Linked DNA regions of Homo sapiens: region 1 is linked to region 2. The links are contacts of gene promoters, found by promoter capture Hi-C in human tissues and cell types (Jung and others, 2019). All regions are on one chromosome and are shown on one strand. The core of a region is centred on a gene start or on the middle of the fragment in contact, and the rest is flanking DNA. Distances in the headings are between cores, read along the strand shown. Region 1 overlaps SIK3 (SIK family kinase 3). Region 2 holds the start of SIDT2 (SID1 transmembrane family member 2).

Evidence for each region. The method cuts DNA at HindIII sites, captures the fragments that hold promoters and counts their contacts. A contact is called where the count stands out against the background at its distance.
Region 1: a fragment that was not itself captured here is called in contact with the fragment with the promoter of SIDT2 in region 2 in 2 of the 25 tissues and cell types used here (hippocampus and pancreas).

What each region holds. Positions count from the first base shown.
Region 1 is chr11:116,961,404-116,966,912 of GRCh38, forward strand. All of the region lies in intron 1 of SIK3 (SIK family kinase 3), which reads right to left. Among named protein-coding and RNA genes, the nearest start is that of APOA1, 130 kb to the left of the region's middle. RefSeq lists a silencer at 2,997-3,197. The HindIII fragment of the contact is 8,386 bases long and covers 1-5,509 here.
Region 2 is chr11:117,175,482-117,181,070 of GRCh38, forward strand. It overlaps SIDT2 (SID1 transmembrane family member 2), which reads left to right and starts at 3,262. Exons shown (of 26, transcript NM_001040455.2): 1 at 3,262-3,965. The coding sequence starts at 3,783. It also overlaps a transcript of PAFAH1B2 not described here. RefSeq lists a silencer at 3,361-3,570 and an enhancer at 4,551-4,620. The HindIII fragment of the contact is 11,732 bases long and covers 2,930-5,589 here.

The sequences.
Region 1 (5,509 bases), core at 1,172-3,671, 210 kb before region 2:
GATTGTTTTGAGAATATCTAAACAGATAAATGAGTATGAGTTTCACAGCTACAGATTACTGAAGACTATATAATAAAGGTTTTGGTGTAAAGTACACACCAGTTGCTTGAAAAACTGAATGTGTCCACAACAAAGGTAAATCAGTAGGTAAAGAAAAGATAAACTCTCAAAGAATGTTATTATATTGGGGTTGAAAATCTATAAATCTCCTAATTGTACTTACATATGAAAATTATAACAAAGCAGAAAACTTCCAACATGTTACCAAGAGACCATATATTTCCTAAGTTTGCCTGTTCTACACAGAATTCTTTTATCTTCCAAAGAGCATGATTTTGTAAATTGACATTCTAATATTAATTAAACATGACACTGTATCAAGTATGCTACTAAAGAGATAACAGATTGTGAGAGTCCTTAATTTCCCTACTCAAGACATTCCCATTCAACAAATTCTTCTGTTTCAATTGGCATGTGGTAGGAAAAAAATTAAATTTAGATCATGCCAAATTTAAAGTCATAGTTCTTTATTATTCATTCTATGAGAGGAAAAATTACTATTTCTCCCTTTTAATTCTCACTTCTAAAAAACACAGTTCTTTTTAACTCAACTCACTTTTGTAAGCACAATAATGTTCATAGTGAATGAAGCTGAAAAAAATAGTGGTTTCTTCACAACAGGCAATAAATTCACTTGCATATTCTGACACCATATTTGTAAGCAAGATACGGCAACAGAGTAAAAGACAATGAACTAAGGGACAGTTCAGCATTAAGATCAAAACAAACCACCCTTCCCCATCAGAAATAAATGCCCTATAGCAGATAGTACGGATTCAGGGATATGCCAGGACAAATGGACAGTTCAAGAAAGAACTACGTAGGAGGGAAATGCAAAGATCACAAGGGCTCAAATTCTTCCAAGACGAGAAAGAGGATCTCCTTACACTGGTATGCAGATGAACATACAGTAATTTCAAAGAATATAGTGAGCAGACTGCATGCTTTTTAGAAGGAAAGAGAAAACATTACAGTTTGAAGAAAAGCTTATTTTTTTAAAAAATTTGTTTTAAGGAAAGAGCTCTATTTCTTTTAGAAATGTCTTTAGAATTTAGGCAGATATCAAACATTTTGTCATTGTAAGCTTTTTTCAATGGGGTTATGTTTTTATACTAACTTCTGTAGCAAAATTTTTATTCTCTATTTTTATGACAAAGCTTATCTACTCTAGAACATTCTCGGCTCAGCTCTACAACTATTTTATGATCTAGATCTGTACAGTGTAATACAGTAGGCACCAGCCACGTGTAACTATCCAGACTGATGCGCTATAAATGTAAAATATATACCAGATTTCAAAGATAGTAATATAAAAAAGAATTAAACTATCTCCCTGATACATTTTTATATTGATTACATGTGGAAATTATAATATTTTAGATATATTAGGCTAAACAAAAGATATTAAAACTAATTTCACCACTTTTTACTTTTTTAATATGATTATTTAAAAATTGTAAATAATATATGTGCCCTCTTTCTCTTGGACGGCACTGATCCACATAATGCCAACAGGCTACATAATTAATCTACCAGTTAAAGGACGTATTCCTTGAAAATGACTTCTGAAATCATTGACTTGATATTGAGAATTGCCAACTGTCTATCTCACAGAAACCTGGCCCAAGTTACAAGGCTCTCAATGCTCAAACATTGCCTTGGGAGAAAATCTCAAATAAGGTCTCAAAAGTTATATTCTAGGAGCTCAATTTAATTCAATTTTTAAAATGTCTATTGAGCAACTGACTGGTTTACTGTACTGCCCTTGTGTGCAGCCATTCCCAGGAGGGGTTCTCTCAGAGAATTAAGTCTTACAGCCTTAAGACAGCAGTTCCCAAACTGTTTGGTCTCAGGACTCCTTCTCTTAAAAGTTAGGAGAAACTTCAAAGAAGTTTTGATTATGTGAGTAATATCTTTCAATATTTGCTTAGAAATCAAATTAAAAATCAGAAATTAAGACAAAAATTTAAAAGACACGTGTATACAACCACACATCTCCTTGGTCATCAGAGCAATTGCAGCATCATACATAGCATAGTCTCTGGAAATCTCTATTTTATAATTGTGAGAGACTATGAATGAAAAGTGAAAATAATGTTGTGGCATTTCTTTAAAAATGGTTTTGACCTAGGGGACCCACTGAAACAGTATTGGAGTCTATGACATCCCTGAATCAAACTCTGAGAACAACTGCCCTTAAAGCATCACTGTATGTAATGAATTGACTTCTCTTCAATGCATCTAGAATAGTACCATGTTTGGGAGAACTGAGAAAATAGTCACTCAATTTTCTTTTCTATAGGGCATAATGCTTTCACAGGACCCAGCTAAGAATGGCTGGCTAGAAAGGAACTTAAGTACCTTTGGAATCAGCCTTAATGAAAAAACATTTTTATTTAAAATTTACTAGAAAATAGAATTGTCAACAGAAAACAAATTTAAAAGAACCCCAAACCAACACAAGCTAGGCTCTTGAATGCAACCTGTTACACATTAAATGGCCATGATTAATAACGTGCCACATGACCAAGGTCAGGATGTAGGCTGGCCACATTCTTGGGAAGATCCTAACGTCTGCACTGTTACCCAGGCTGGAGTGCAGTGACACGACCATAGCTCGCTGCAGCCTCAACCTTCTGGGCTGAAGCCATTCTCTCACCTCAGCCTTCTGAGTAGCTGGGACTACAGGGACACACCACCACACCTGGATAATATATATTTTTTAATTTTCTGTAGCAACAGGGTCTCACTATGTTGCCCAGGCTGGTCTCAATGGATCCTCCCACCTCAGTCTCCTAAAGTGCTGGGGTTACACGCAACAGCCACCACACCTGGCTTCCAATTTTTTAATTGAAGTCTATATTTCAGCTTGAAACAATTAGTCAAATCAAGTACTAAGGGGCAAAACAGGGATGTATATTTGGAAAGAACAGGTTATTCTATTCATTATACACACCAATCACAACTGTTTCTGGGAAAATATGCAGCTGTCAAGCCTAAGGAATGGCTGGGATGCAAGGATGCTAGCCAACTCGAGACACAAGGACTCTACATGGCCAGCAAAGATAAGGGTCAGGCAGCTTTCAATAAACTCCACAGAAAGTGGTTAACAACTATAATTTAAAATGTATAGCACTCCAGGCACGGTGGCTCATGCCTCTAATCCCAGCACTTTGGGAGGCCGAGGTAGGCAGATCACTTGAGGTCAGGAGCTCGAGACCAGCCTGGCCAACATGGTGAAACCCCACCTCTACTAAAAATACAAAAATTAGCCAGGTGTGGTGGTGGGCACCTGTAATCCCAGCTACTTGGGAGGCTGAGGCAGGGAGAATCGCTTGAACCCAGGAGGCGGAGGTTGCAGTGAGCCGAGATGGCGCCGCTGCACTCCAGCCAGGGCAACAAGAGCGAAACTCCATCTCAAAAATAATAATAATAATAATAATAAAATACAATAAAATGTATAGTGCTTTTTAGGTGAGTGGTTGAACTTTTATTTTTCTGCCCTCTAGGCTGTACTGAATGGTGACTGTAAAATAGTTCATGCATTTCCAATGTCTGGATAGAGAACAGAAAGTTTACTGAAAGTGGGAAAATAAGTTGGAAAATGGTATACTGTGCAAAATTAGTAAATGGTATCTGAAGCAAAGGAAATTTTCTGTGATTACTTGAAATTCAAGATATAGAAGAGAAATTTTTAAAGACAAAAAGAAAATGATTTCTCAGTTCCAGTAATTCCCATCTGGTTGACATTTACCCTCTCAGAAAACAGAAGCCTACGAGTGTCTCCAATATTATGAGCAACTCTCTCAGGCATACTGACATGATTGTTATTGTTGCAAAGTGCCAACAATGTTTTATAGTTAAATCAACTCTTGTCCTACAGGTTTATCACTTAAATGTATTCAACAATTTTTTTTTTTTAAAAAAAAGGAGTGGAGGAAAAGAGAGTTGACAATAAAAATAAAGGTCAATCAGGATTATTTACAAAATATAGATATTCAATTTTCTATTTTCAGGTGTTTATTTCAGATTAAACAAATTGCAGAAGTTTAAGAGGGAGATACTTAGAATGGGATTGATGGCTTAATTTTAAGGTTAAGGAGCTGTTGAAAAGGATGCCTCAAAGCCCTAAAAAAAAGAGAGGGAAGAGGCCAGGTGCAGGGCTCACACCTGTAATCCTAGCACTTTGGGAGGCTGAGGCGGGCAGATCACTTGAAGTCAGGAGTTCAAGACCAGCCTCTCTAACATGGTGAAAACCCGTCTCTGCTAAAATATATATATATATATATATATATATATATATATATATATATATATATAAATTAGCCAAACATGGTGGTGTATGCCTGTAGTCCCAGCTACTTGGGAGACTAAGGCAGGAGAATCGCCTGAACCTGGGAGGTGGAGGTTGCAGTGAGCCGAGATGACACCACTACATGCCAGCCTGGGTGACAGAGCAAGACTCCGTCTCAAAAAAAAAAAGAGGGAAGAGCAGGAAAGAAGGAGGACAGAAAGAGAATGTAGGACAAACAGGAAACACTCTGAATAGAGAGAAAGGATTGGGCAGAAAAGTATTAGGGATCTGGGGAAGAAAAGGGCAAAAGCTAAATGGTTTAACAAGGCAGTTCTAATAGTTCAAAATGGCAACCAAAGAACACTGTCTAAGAAAGTGGCATAATGACAAAATAGGCCGGCCTGGTGGCTCATGCTGTAATCCCAGGAGTTCGAGACCGGCCTGGGCAACACAGCAAGACCCCCAACTCTACAAAAAATTTTTTAAAAATTATCCAGCCATGATGGCATATGCCTGTAGTCCTAGTACTCAGGAGACTGAGGTGGGAAGATCATTTGAGTCCAAGAGCTCAAGGCTATAGTGGGCTGTGATCACGCCACTGCACTCCAGCCTGGGCGAGAGGGAGACCCCATTTCAAAAAATAAAACAATAAAAATAATAAGAATAACAATACAGGTTGAATATCCCTTATCCAAAACGTTATGTTTCATATACACCTTATACACATAGCTTGAAGGTAATTTTACACAATATTTTAAATAATCTTGTGCATTAAAAACAAGTTTGTATTAAGTGCTTATGCATAGAATTTTCCACATGGTGTCATGTTGGCACTCAAAGAGTTTAAGATTTGGGGGCATTTTTCGTTTTTGAATTAGGGGTGTTCAACCTACAACTTATAGAAATATTTTGAAATTTTTAAAAAAGTAGTTTATTTCCAAAGAAAAATGTCAAAGTTATGGTGGGAAATTAAACTATAAAAAATGAAATTTTGCACTTTGGGAGGCCGAGGTGGGCGGACTGCCTGGGGTCAGGAGTTTGAGATCAGTCTGGCCAACATGGTGAAACCCCGTCTCTACTAAAAATACAAAAAAAAAATTAGCCAAGCATGGTGGCGTGGGCCTGTAGCCCCAGCTACTTGGGAGGCTGAGGCAG
Region 2 (5,589 bases), core at 2,012-4,511:
ATTCAAAAGTTAAGTCTTGAGACCTTGCAAAAGGGAAGGATCCCTTCAGAGTTTGCTTGGATGGATTTCTCTCCAGATATTGCCAGCGGAAAGGGAGCAAACAGAAATAGTGATAGTCCACAGTTGTTTGGTTCCAGAGCAGTGGTTCTCAAACTTCATTGTGCATAGCAAGCTTCTGGAGTGCCCCGTTAAATTGCAGTTTTCTGGGCTCCACCTCCCAAGATGAATTAAGTGTGAAGTAGGACTCTGGATGTGCGTTTAAAACAGGCGTAGGGTCACATCTTGCCCCAAAGTTATGAGGCCAACTTAGAGTAGTGGTGCTTGCCTGTAATCCAGCTACTCGAGAGGCTGTGGCAGATCGCTTGAAGCCAGGAGTTCAAGACCAGCCTGGGCAATGTATCACGAGTGTTTCTTAATGTTTCAGATTATTTACTGGCAAGATGAGCAGGATTACCATGAAAGAAAAGTCCAGATGGACTGAGGAAATCCTACACTGATTCTCCAAACTTGGCAGCTGACTGCATGGAGGGCTCATGATGAAGAAACCTCTTTTGCCATCCTGAGGATTCTCTGATTCATATTCGCCTAGATGTGCTGGAAACAGTACTGGACCAAGGTGCAAACTTGAGTCTAGTGAGGTACTAATGGGCTGAAGTTTTTCTGAGCGTCACTTTCCTCATCTGTATAATGAGGGGTTGGCCAAGGAAACCCATAAGGTTATCTTCCAGCTGACTTTCTAATTGGTGAACCCTTTGGAAAAGGGGTGCAGCTTGCTTCTGGTCTTCATCCTCAAGTATGCTGTGCTTGGACAGGGGCCAAAACTAATTCCTCCACTCACCATTTGCCCAGCATAACTACAACAGTACCTGGCACATCGTGGATGCTTATTAAATATTTATTGCAGGAATGAGTAAATATAACTAACTGATCATAAGGTAAAATAGTCTTCATTGGAACAAGGCTCCAGATAGTTGGGCAGGGCTGGGAGCTGAGACTGCTGCAATCCTGCCAGCTGAGAGAACTCTGACAAGGCACTGATCTGGGTGGCTTTATTAGGATGTCTGACAGCTTCAGAGGTGGCCACATTTCTTTTCCTTTAAACATGTCTAATTTGGCCGGGCGCAGTGGCTCACGCCTGTAATCCCAACACTTTGGGAAGCCTAGGTGGGTGGATCACTCGAGGTCAGGAGTTCGAGATCAGCCTGACCAATATGGTGAAACCCCGCTTTACTAAAAATACAAGAAATTAGCAGGGTGTGGTGGCGGGTGCCTGTAGTCCCAGCTACTTGGGAGGCTGAGGCAGGAGCATCGCCTGAACTCAGGAGGCGGAGATTGCAGTGAGCTGAGATCACACCACTGTACTCCAGCATGGGTGACAGTGAGACTCCATCTCAAAAAAAAAAAAAAAAAAAAGTCTAATTTGTCTTATAAATGCAATATATGTGGCCAGGCATGGTGGCTCATGCCTATAATCCCAGCACTTTGGGAGACTGAGGTGGGTGGATCACCTGAGGTCAGGAGTTCGAGACCAGCCTGACCAATATGGTGAAACCCCGTCTCTACCAAAAATACAAAAATTAGCTGGGCGTGGTGGCACATGGCCTGTAATCCCAGCTACTCGGGAGACTGAGGCAGGAGAATTGCTTGAACCCAGGAGGCAGAGGTTGCAATGAGCTGAGATTGTGCCACTGCACTCCAACCTGGGCAACAGAGCGAGACCCTGTCTCCACCCCCCGGCAGATAAAAAAGCAATATATAAATATATATACATTGTAGAACATTTGTAAATCTTTTTAAATATAAAAAATAAAATTTAAGAACCACTCACAATCCATTATTTTTTATTTTTTGGTACTACTCTATATTTTTAGAATTAAAGGAAAATGATATACAATATGTGTTATTTTTAAAATTGTAATTCAAAGATAACTACTGCTAAATTTTATTTTTAAAATTTGCCCTGCTTTCTGGAGACATTGCTAAATGTTTAGTACAATTTTTTTCTATTTTTCTATGCATGTCTATATGCATTTGGAATATATACGGTTTTATTTACTTATTTATTTTTGAGACAGAGTCTTGCTCTGTTGCAGCCCAGGCTGGAGTGCAGGAGCATGATCTCAGCTCACTGCAACCTCCGCCTGGTAGAGTTAAGCGATTCTCCTGCTTCAGCCTCCCCAGTAGCTGGGATTACAGGCACGCGTCACCACGCCCCACTAATTTTGTATTTTTATAGTAGAGATGGGGTTCACCATGTTGGCCATGGCTGGTCTCGAACTCCTGACCTCAAGTGATCTACCTGTCTTGGCCTCCCAAAGTGTTGGGATTACACGTGTGAGCCACGGCACCTGGCTCTATATACTGTTTATTTAGTGTCATATCCTGAATTCTCTGCTTACGTGTCCTGTGAAGTCTTAAGCATCATTTTTGATGCCTTCATGATAGTGCATTTAACCAATCCCTCATTATGGATATCCAAGTCATTTCCTTTTTGCTTTATATTATAAATATCACAGTGATAAGCGTAGCTGCCCAGGTATTTTTATCTGTGCTTCCTATTTCCTTAGGATAGAGTCCAGAAGTGGAATTACTGGATCAAAGGGTATAAAGCTCTCTAAGTTTCTTGAAACAGTGCCAAAATATTTTGTAGAAAAGTTTTCACCAATTTACACTGAAGGTCAGTATCTTTCAATGAGTTTTGTAACTGTCTCTGAGAGAAGAGGGGAAACAGCCCGGCAAGCTTGGAAAGCTCGGAAGGCCGTCCCTGCAGTTGTGTGGCCCCTCTAGAGGGAGGTGGGAAAGGCATGGGGATTCCTCCTGCAGTGCTGCCTCCGTTTCCCCTCCGCCGGTAGGGCCACCGTCCTGTTTCCTAATCCTTCGAGTTTTTCATTTTTTAAGATCCCCGGAGAAAAAGTGGCCCAGGGTTGGACGATGTTAGTTGTAAAGGTGGTGGTGGGGGTGGGGGAATCCTTATGTTTGAGCAAATGTAAGAGTTGTTCAGCAAGAACCCAACACTTGGAGATTGTTAACAGAAACATCTGCCTATTCCAACGTGAGTTTCAGAGATGGTGAAAATCACGGGAGAGAGTTGGGTAGGAGTTGGAGAAGGCATTGCAAGCTTTCCCCTTCAGCTAGACAGCTGCAGCCCCTTTAAGGGCAAATGCGGGACCTGGTCCTTTAAATCTGTGTCAGTTTCCCCTGACGTCAGCGGGCGGGCCAGCAGCCCTGCTGTTTATCGCCCAGCGGCGCAGCTCACTTTTCAGTGTTCGTGCGTCGGGACGGCGCGTCCGCCCGCCCTTAAAGGGCCCGCACCTCGGAAAACTCGCAGCCCAGCACGGCGTCGGGTAGCTACCACCTATCACGCCCCTCACTCTGCGACTCGCCTTCCTCCGCGGCCAGCCCCCGCCGCCGGCTCTTCCTCCCTCCCCTTTCCCGGCGTCTCCAGGCTCCCGGCAACCAGCCGCCCTCCTTCTCACGGCCCTGGCCCGGGGCTCCAGGGTCTCAGGTCGTACTCAGCCCCTCGCGAGCTGGGACCCCTTCCCGTAGCCAGCATCCCCTCCCTCCCCGCCCCCTCCCGGCCGCCCCCTCCCCTGCGGGGACCCTGGGAGCCTCTTCGGGGCTCTTGGGAGGGGACATTTCCTAATCTCAGGCCGGGGTTAAAGTTCTGGTCCTGGTGAGATGCTGGAAGCTGCGGCCGCAGCCGCAACCCGTCCCGGAGGTGTCCTGTCTCCTGTCGCCGCCGCCGCCGCCACCACCGCTGCCACTGCCGCCCTGCCGGGGCCATGTTCGCTCTGGGCTTGCCCTTCTTGGTGCTCTTGGTGGCCTCGGTCGAGAGCCATCTGGGGGTTCTGGGGCCCAAGAACGTCTCGCAGAAAGACGCCGAGTTTGAGCGCACCTACGTGGACGAGGTCAACAGCGAGCTGGTCAACATCTACACCTTCAACCATACTGTGACCCGCAACAGGGTGAGGGCTGGGGGCTTAGGGGCCAGAGGCGAGTGGGGAAGCCGACGAGGGCTAGGCGATTCTGCCGCCCCGCTACCCTTTTGGGAGGCCCCAGGAACGAGCTGTCCTGCTAGGTTCCCAGTTCCCAGAACCACACTGGAGCCTCTTGACCAGTCCTCCTTCCTTTGCCACCAATGTTTCTCTGAAGCTCCAGCTGGGCAGTTTTTGAAGTTGGCTCATTCCCATCTTCTCTTCCGCCCCCATTCTTCCATCAGTTGTGGTCTGAGCACACATGGCTTGCTCTCTACCCTAAACCCCAGAATCTGACAGCTCTGTGGGGTCTCGGTGGGAGAGGAAACAGGCTTATTACTGGGCTTGCCCAGAAAACCTCAGGGGAATGAGACTGGCCCAGAACTGAAAAGCTCTGTGCAGGCAAGTTACATCTCAGACTCCCCAGGGAGATGAATGCAGGGCTTCCCAGCCCTCTTCCTGCCTGGGAGAGCCAGCTGGCCTTGTAAATTGAGGGTGACAGAGGTTTTATAAGGCCAACTGCAAGTTGGGTGGGAAGAGAAGGGGAATTTGTCCACTGTGAAAAATCCACTTCACCCTGACTTCTCTTTGGTTTCTTCACCAGCTGTGAGTCCCTGAGTTGAAATAGACACAGCTAGTGTGGGAAGTCTAGACCCCAGGCAGAGCTGAGATTGGGAGAATTCTTGCAACCTGGCTGTGTGGTCTCGTGCCCGGGTCTCTTGCTCTCTCTCCATGACTGCCGTTTACTGAGAAGCAATGGAGTTGAGAATGGGGAATCTGATTTTTTTTCAGAACGGGGAGTGGTTTGGTTTCTGTGGCAGGCCAGGATCTGCCCCCAGTGCCTGGTTCTCTGAAGTTTGATCTCTTTCTGCTTAGAGTCCTTTCTTCCTTTTTTCCCATATCTAAAGGCACTGGAGAGCTGTGGTTTTTACTCTTTTGGGAAATGCTGCCCTAGGGCTTGGGTTTCAGCAGCCCAATAACAAGCATTCCAAGATCGATTTGGTTTTATTTTTCCTTTAAGCTCCCATTGTTTATATATGTTCCTTCATAGCTCCAAGGGTGAAGATCACTTTATCTTTTTTTTTTTTTTTTTTTTTTTGAGACCAGTCTCACTCTGTTGCCCAGGCTGAAGTGCAGTTTTGTGATCTCAGCTCACTGCAACCTCCGCCTTCCCGGTTCAAGCGATTCTCCTGCCTCAGCCTCCCAAGTAGTTGAGATTACAGGCGCCTGCCACCATACCCAGCTAATTTTTGTATTTTTAGTAGAGATGGGGCTTCACCATGTTGGCCAGGCTGGTCTCAAACTCCTGACCTCAGATGATCCTCCTGCCTTGGCCTCCCAAAGTGCTACAAGCGTGAGTCACCGCACCCGGCTGTCATTTTATAGAGGGAGAAGTTGAGGCTTAGAGAAGTAAAGTGACTTCTCCACAGCCCTGTCCCTTGGTGGGAGCTAAGGATACAACATGGCCTTCAATACCTACCCCTCCTCAACTCCTCTGGGCTCTGGCCCCAGGTTAGCTGTTAACTAGAGCTTCCTGCTGGCTTCCTGGCTCACAGGAAGGTTGAGGAGCACTTCTTGTTCTCCTGTGTCTTCGTGTGTGGGGGCGTGTGTACAC